Linked DNA regions of Homo sapiens: region 2 is linked to region 1. The links are contacts of gene promoters, found by promoter capture Hi-C in blood cells and fetal thymus (Javierre and others, 2016). All regions are on one chromosome and are shown on one strand. Each heading gives the region's core, a stretch centred on a gene start or on the middle of the fragment in contact. The rest is flanking DNA. Distances are from core to core; before and after follow the strand shown.

Region 1 (2,783 bases), core at 76-2,575:
AGAAATTTCTGAAAGGGGCAAATGAGATACCACTTCAGAGGCTAGAGCGACTGTCGAGTGCAGAAAGAGCACAAGATGTAGGATTTCCTAATGTTTTTACGAATTCAAAACTGATTTTTTAAACCAACTCCCACCACAGAAGGCCTCCCTGACAACAAGGGCGAACGCTGTGAAGGAGAAAACAACTCAAGGGAAAAAAATACTAAAAGATGCCACACAACCAAGCTGGTCAGACTTTAAAGGCCTCCACTACCAAACAAACCACAAGGCTGGTATCAAAAATGTGCACGCACCCACGAATATGTGTGAAATATAAAAGAACCAAAAACATCACAGGGCGCACAGGCAGACACACACACTCCCCGCCCACCCCTCGCCCCCCACCCCCCCCCCCCCCGCCCAAAAGCAGGGTGAACAGTTACAGCACCTAAAACCCCAAGCGGCATAGGCTTCTCCGAAACATTTTACAGGGTAACCAAGAAGCGATTTTGAAAGCAACTGAAAAACGTGCCAACTGAAAACAGGGCCTGGCAACAGTTTGCAAGCGTGATTCAGAGGGTCTGCCAAGGAAACAAAAGCCTCCCTCCTGCCCATGAGACCGCACATGGTACGAGAGGTGCTCCAGGCGGGATGCATTTTAAGCAAGGCAGACAAACAGAAGTCTGTGCGGGCGCAAGCGGTACATACTAGGGATCGCTATCTGGCGAGGATGGGGCCATGGAGTTTCCATTGGTTGGGGAACCGCCCAGCTTTAGTTTCTCCAGATATTCGGCGTGCACGGGCTTGTGGCACTGGAGAACCTTGATGGCATCTTCGACTTTGAACCACTCTCGCTTCCTCCCAATGCTAACCGAATCTTCCCAATCCTCCAGCAGCTCCGTGACAGTCAGTACATACACGTACGTTCTGTGCTTGGGGTCCTGGTTCTGTTCGAAGACGCCCAGGAGCCGGCCTAACTTCCCCTTGACTCCCGCCTCTTCGTACACCTCTCGGACCGCCGCACCGCCCGGCTCCTCCTCGGGCTCCATGCCCCCGCCCGGCACGATCCAGCGGTCCGGGTACCGGCTGCTACTCACTAACAGGACCTCGTCCTCGCGCTCGCTCCGGAAGCACAGGCACGCCGCCCGCTTCTTGAACCCCTCGGGGTCGTAGGTCCGTGTCTGGTTGGGTTTGCACTTCATCCTCGAGGCAGCCTCCTCTCGCCTCTCGCTGCTGTGTGGGCCGCCGACGCAGCTGCTGCCGCTGCCGGGCAGCAGCCGAGGTGCTGGGAAGAGAAAGGGCCGAGGAGAGGGGCGGGGAGAGAGAGGCGCCTCCGTCTGCCGTCTGCCCCCGAGCCCGGGGAGCGGAGGGAGAGATGAAGCTGGGCGGGGCACGGGCGGAGGCGGGGGCAAGCGAGGCGTGTCAGTCAGCCAGTCCGCCAGTCCGATGGGCGGCCGGCCGAACCCGGGCCCGCCGGAGTGGAGGAGGCGCTGCTGCCCGCGAGCCCGCGACTCTCCACAGAGCCCACCCGCTTCTGCGAGGTGAAGCGCATTCTCGGGCGCGTCCGCGCTCCCGTTCACGTGCGCGTTCGCAGGGGAGGGCGTGGGCTGAGGGGCGAGGAACCGGGGCGAGGGGCCAGGGGCGGGGGTCTCCTGGCTCCCGCAGCGCGCAACGCCTGGGGCCCACTGCGCAGGCGCTTCGCACTCCTGGGGCCAGGAACCTCCTTGGCGCACAGCGAAATTCACCGCATTGTGACTTTGGCCAAGACTGCCTCCATGTGTGCCTTTGACCCAAACTCACTGTGGCACGGCAGGACGTTTCTCCTCTCACTCCCCACTGCGCTGCAGGAAACCCACAGGCAGTTGTTTCACACAAGACAGGGGCAAAGGCAGCGTCGTCATCATCCTCCCCCACTATCAACCATTCTGGCTTACTCATGGGACCTGGGCCCTAGTGTTGTCTGCACAACCCACGGGATTCTTGGCACAGTAGCCGGGCATCTTTGCTGAGTCACATGATGCAGTTTTATTTCTTCAACAGGTTCCCACCTTGCAGAGCATCTTGGCGCAGCCAGTAATTTAACGCTTTTCTTAAACCCCTGTTCACAACCTGCCTGACCTCCCTGCACCTCAGTTTCCTCATGGGTACACTCCTCGCCTCCGTGTTGCAGCCATTTGCACTTCGATGCAGTACACCTTAAAGACCAGAGCACCACCCATCTAGTAGTCCTGCGTTAAAGCCCAGAGACGTTCTCCTATTCTCCACACACTCCACCCTTCTCTATCTTTCTCTTTGATAAGCACCACTTGGTGTTTGGGAAACCATGCACATGGAGATCCCGTCCTATTTCACAATTTTATTTTATTTTATTTTTTGAGATGGAGTCTCACTCTGTCGCTCTGTCGCCCAGGCTGGAGTGCCGTGGCACGATCTTAGCTCACTGCAACCTTCGCCTCCTGGGTTCAAGCGATCCTCCTGCCTCAGCCTCCTGAGTAGCTGGGATTACAGGCGGGTGCCATCACGCCTGGCTAATTTTTGTAGCTTTAGAAGAGACGGGTTTCACCATGTTGGTCAGGCTGCTCTTGAACTCCTAACCTCGCGATCCGCCCACCTCGGCCTCCCAAAGTGTACTATTAACCACCACAAAACAAATAAAATACTAAGGGGTCCTAAAAATGTGGTTAGGACTTAGTAGTACAAAATGGTTGAACTTCTACTCAGAGCTTTGAAACATGATTTGAATGAATCACGAGACACTCTAGCAAAACTAGCAGACTAGTGGGGTGTCTGGGTTCGAGAGGGGC
Region 2 (2,783 bases), core at 117-2,616, 140 kb before region 1:
TAACACAGGCAAGAAAAACATGTCAGGCTGCCACAACTTTCCTCCTCTGTAACTAAAGATGCTGTGAGTCTAACATCTGGAAAATTGTGCCCAACATTAACCTTTATTTTTCTTCTGTTTCCATAGACATGCCTCTTATCAAAAATCTGTTTGCCTTCATCACATACAGAGGCCTAGCCCATCTGCAGTGCTACCTCCTGGATAGAACACAGCTATTTAACTAAACTAATCCATTCTCATGGACTAGACAGGGCTTATGGCCACCTTCATGAGTGTTCATAACTCTTCCTGTAACCTTTTAAATACATATTTAGCCATCCTGTCATTATATCCAGTTACAATTGGCAGTGGGGAACCTGAATGATAATTAAGAGTAGCTGCTGTATATACATCCCTGATAATTTGGGAAAAATGTCTCTAGCTTTGCAAGACATGCACCAACAACTCAAACCTATGTCTGACATAATATTGTCAATAGACCAGTGGTCAGTATTCTGGTTCAGGTCAAGACCATCTTGGTAGAAAAAGCTGCTTGTAACATTGGCCTTGATTGCAGGGATAGGCATATTCCTCTGTTGTGGAGTTTACTGCAGTTGCACACTCTGTATGGAAATGCAAGACAGGCTTTCCCAAAGACTCTTCAAACTTCACACCGTAATGTTCCAACAAACATCATCTGTAAGTCTGGGTACTTGTGAATATTTCCAACTCCAAGTAGATCAGTTTCATTTTGACAAACAATGACTATGCCCTTTCTCAGCAGGAAGTAGCCAGAGTGAATGTGGCACCCAAATCCCATAGAAGTAAAACGGAACCTGACAGTGGGAAATTATAATTGAGTATACTCATATTTCTAAGAAAAAGAAAATGAGTTATTATTATTATTTTCTCTTATTTTATCAATTTCCCCATTCCCCACTTCTTACGTAGCCCTTTAGAAATGCAGTTATAACCTTTTATCTCCCCTACATCAGACGCTCCCTACAGGGCAAGTTCATCTAACCATGTTCTTAGAAGCTCCAGAGCAGAATTCTCTCCCACCAGGAGACTGCCTTGAGGGACAACAGTCAATTTACAACCCTTAGTATGCCTGCTATGACACTCTCTCCCACCTGGAAAGTTTCGGCCACCTTTACAATCTCGTTCTGCTCACAAAGGCACCAGTTCACTGCCTGGTAGATAAGGCACCAAAGTGAGCATGCAGACCCCTACCTGTTTGCTTCCTCCCCTGCGTGCCATTCATGCTGGGTCCCTTTTTAAAAGTGTCAATTTTCTGCTCCAAAAGTGAATTTGTACCTCTATGGCAGGAAGCCTGTATTTCTTCCCCTAAGCTAGCTTTGGAATAAAAAGTCACTTTCTTTATACCAGACCTTGCTCTTGTTAATTGGACTCTGCAAATGGCAGTGTCTGAACCTGCATTTTTGTTATAGTTATATGAGGATCTTGGTGAACCCATTTCCCAGAGAAACACCATTATTTCGTGACAGCTATGTATATACGCACACATGCATGCACATGCACACACACAAAGTCTTTAGAAATTGTCATAAGGGCATATAACAAATGAAGAAGTATTTAAGAAAATTACTAAATCTTGGCAAAAATGGTTAGAATCTGTGACATTTGAGCTACAAGCTGTTCTATCTCCCCCAGCCCCATGTGACAAGCTCTACTCTAGACCTCTACTACATGTGCTACATGTGGATATGACCAAGAAGATGGGGGCCTCTATCCCCCAAGTTCCTAGTCCATAGTTTGACCCAGGAGGAGAAAGCCACCAGTGTCTTATCCCTCCACAGCGCCATTTTGCAGAAGTCCTAGTCGAGGCAGGCAAGTCTGGGCTAGAGGACTAGCTCCTACTTGTAGGGTGAGGCCTCTGCCTCAGCTGTGATAGGCTAAGACTAGTGGGTTCCCAATCTCCTATGTGCCAGTGTATTTGTAAGGTAAAGTTTCTACATGGAGACTGGCAAGCTGAAATGACCAGAGGCTACCATCTCTCCTCAGTGTCCACTAATAGAGTAAGGTGTTACTGGAGAAGTGGTCTACTATACCCACACCCAGCTCAGGTACACTTGTCCAGAGTTTCTATATATGTAGAAAGGCAGGGCATAAAGCATAGCATCTCTGCCTGAAGGGACTGAATTTATGGGGAACAAAATCTGGAGAAGTTAATGCCTGAAAGCATTGTTGAAAACAGTGAGTATCTTAATGGTGAGCAATTAAGAGGGGCTTGGTGGTTCCATGCTACTAGTAGCAACAAGGGAACAACACTATAAAACAGTTTAAACTAAGAGACATCTAAAGACCACTCCACCCAACAGCAATAAAATATATATCCCCTTCAAGTACATGTAACTTTCTGCAAAATAGATCATATGCTAGGCCATAAACATGCATCAATAGATTTAAAAATACTGAAATCATACAAATTATATTCTCTAACCAAAGTGGAATTTAGAAATCAATGACAGAAAGAAACATGTGAAACTCACAAATATGTAGAAATTAAACAACACATTCCTGTGGGTCAAATAAGAAGTCACAGTGGAAATTAAAGAATATTTCGAGATGGATGTAATCAAAACACCAAAGCAAGAAGCAGCTAAAGCAGTACTTACTGGGTAATTCATTTAAATCTCCACAAAAAAAGAGCAAACAAAACAAGATAAGCAGGATAGGAATACTAAATATTCAAATGAAAATAAATAGAGAATAGAAGAACAATAGAGAAAATTAACAACATTAAAAGTTCGCCCTTTAAAATGATCAGCAACTTGGATTGT

The links. The method cuts DNA at HindIII sites, captures the fragments that hold promoters and counts their contacts. A CHiCAGO score of 5 or more calls a contact.
Region 2: a contact is called between a fragment that was not itself captured here and the fragment with the promoter of NUDT10 in region 1, in 1 of 17 cell types (naive CD4 T cells). The highest score is 5.1, in naive CD4 T cells.

The regions. Positions count from the first base shown.
Region 1 is chrX:51,331,364-51,334,146 of GRCh38, reverse strand. It overlaps NUDT10 (nudix hydrolase 10), which reads right to left and starts at 1,325. Exons shown (of 2, transcript NM_001304963.2): 1 at 688-1,325. The coding sequence starts at 1,181. All of the region lies in intron 4 of LOC105373204 (a long non-coding RNA gene), which reads left to right. The HindIII fragment of the contact is 9,034 bases long and covers 1-2,783 here.
Region 2 is chrX:51,472,733-51,475,515 of GRCh38, reverse strand. No RefSeq gene overlaps it. Among named protein-coding and RNA genes, the nearest start is that of NUDT11, 22 kb to the left of the region's middle. The HindIII fragment of the contact is 3,535 bases long and covers 1-2,783 here.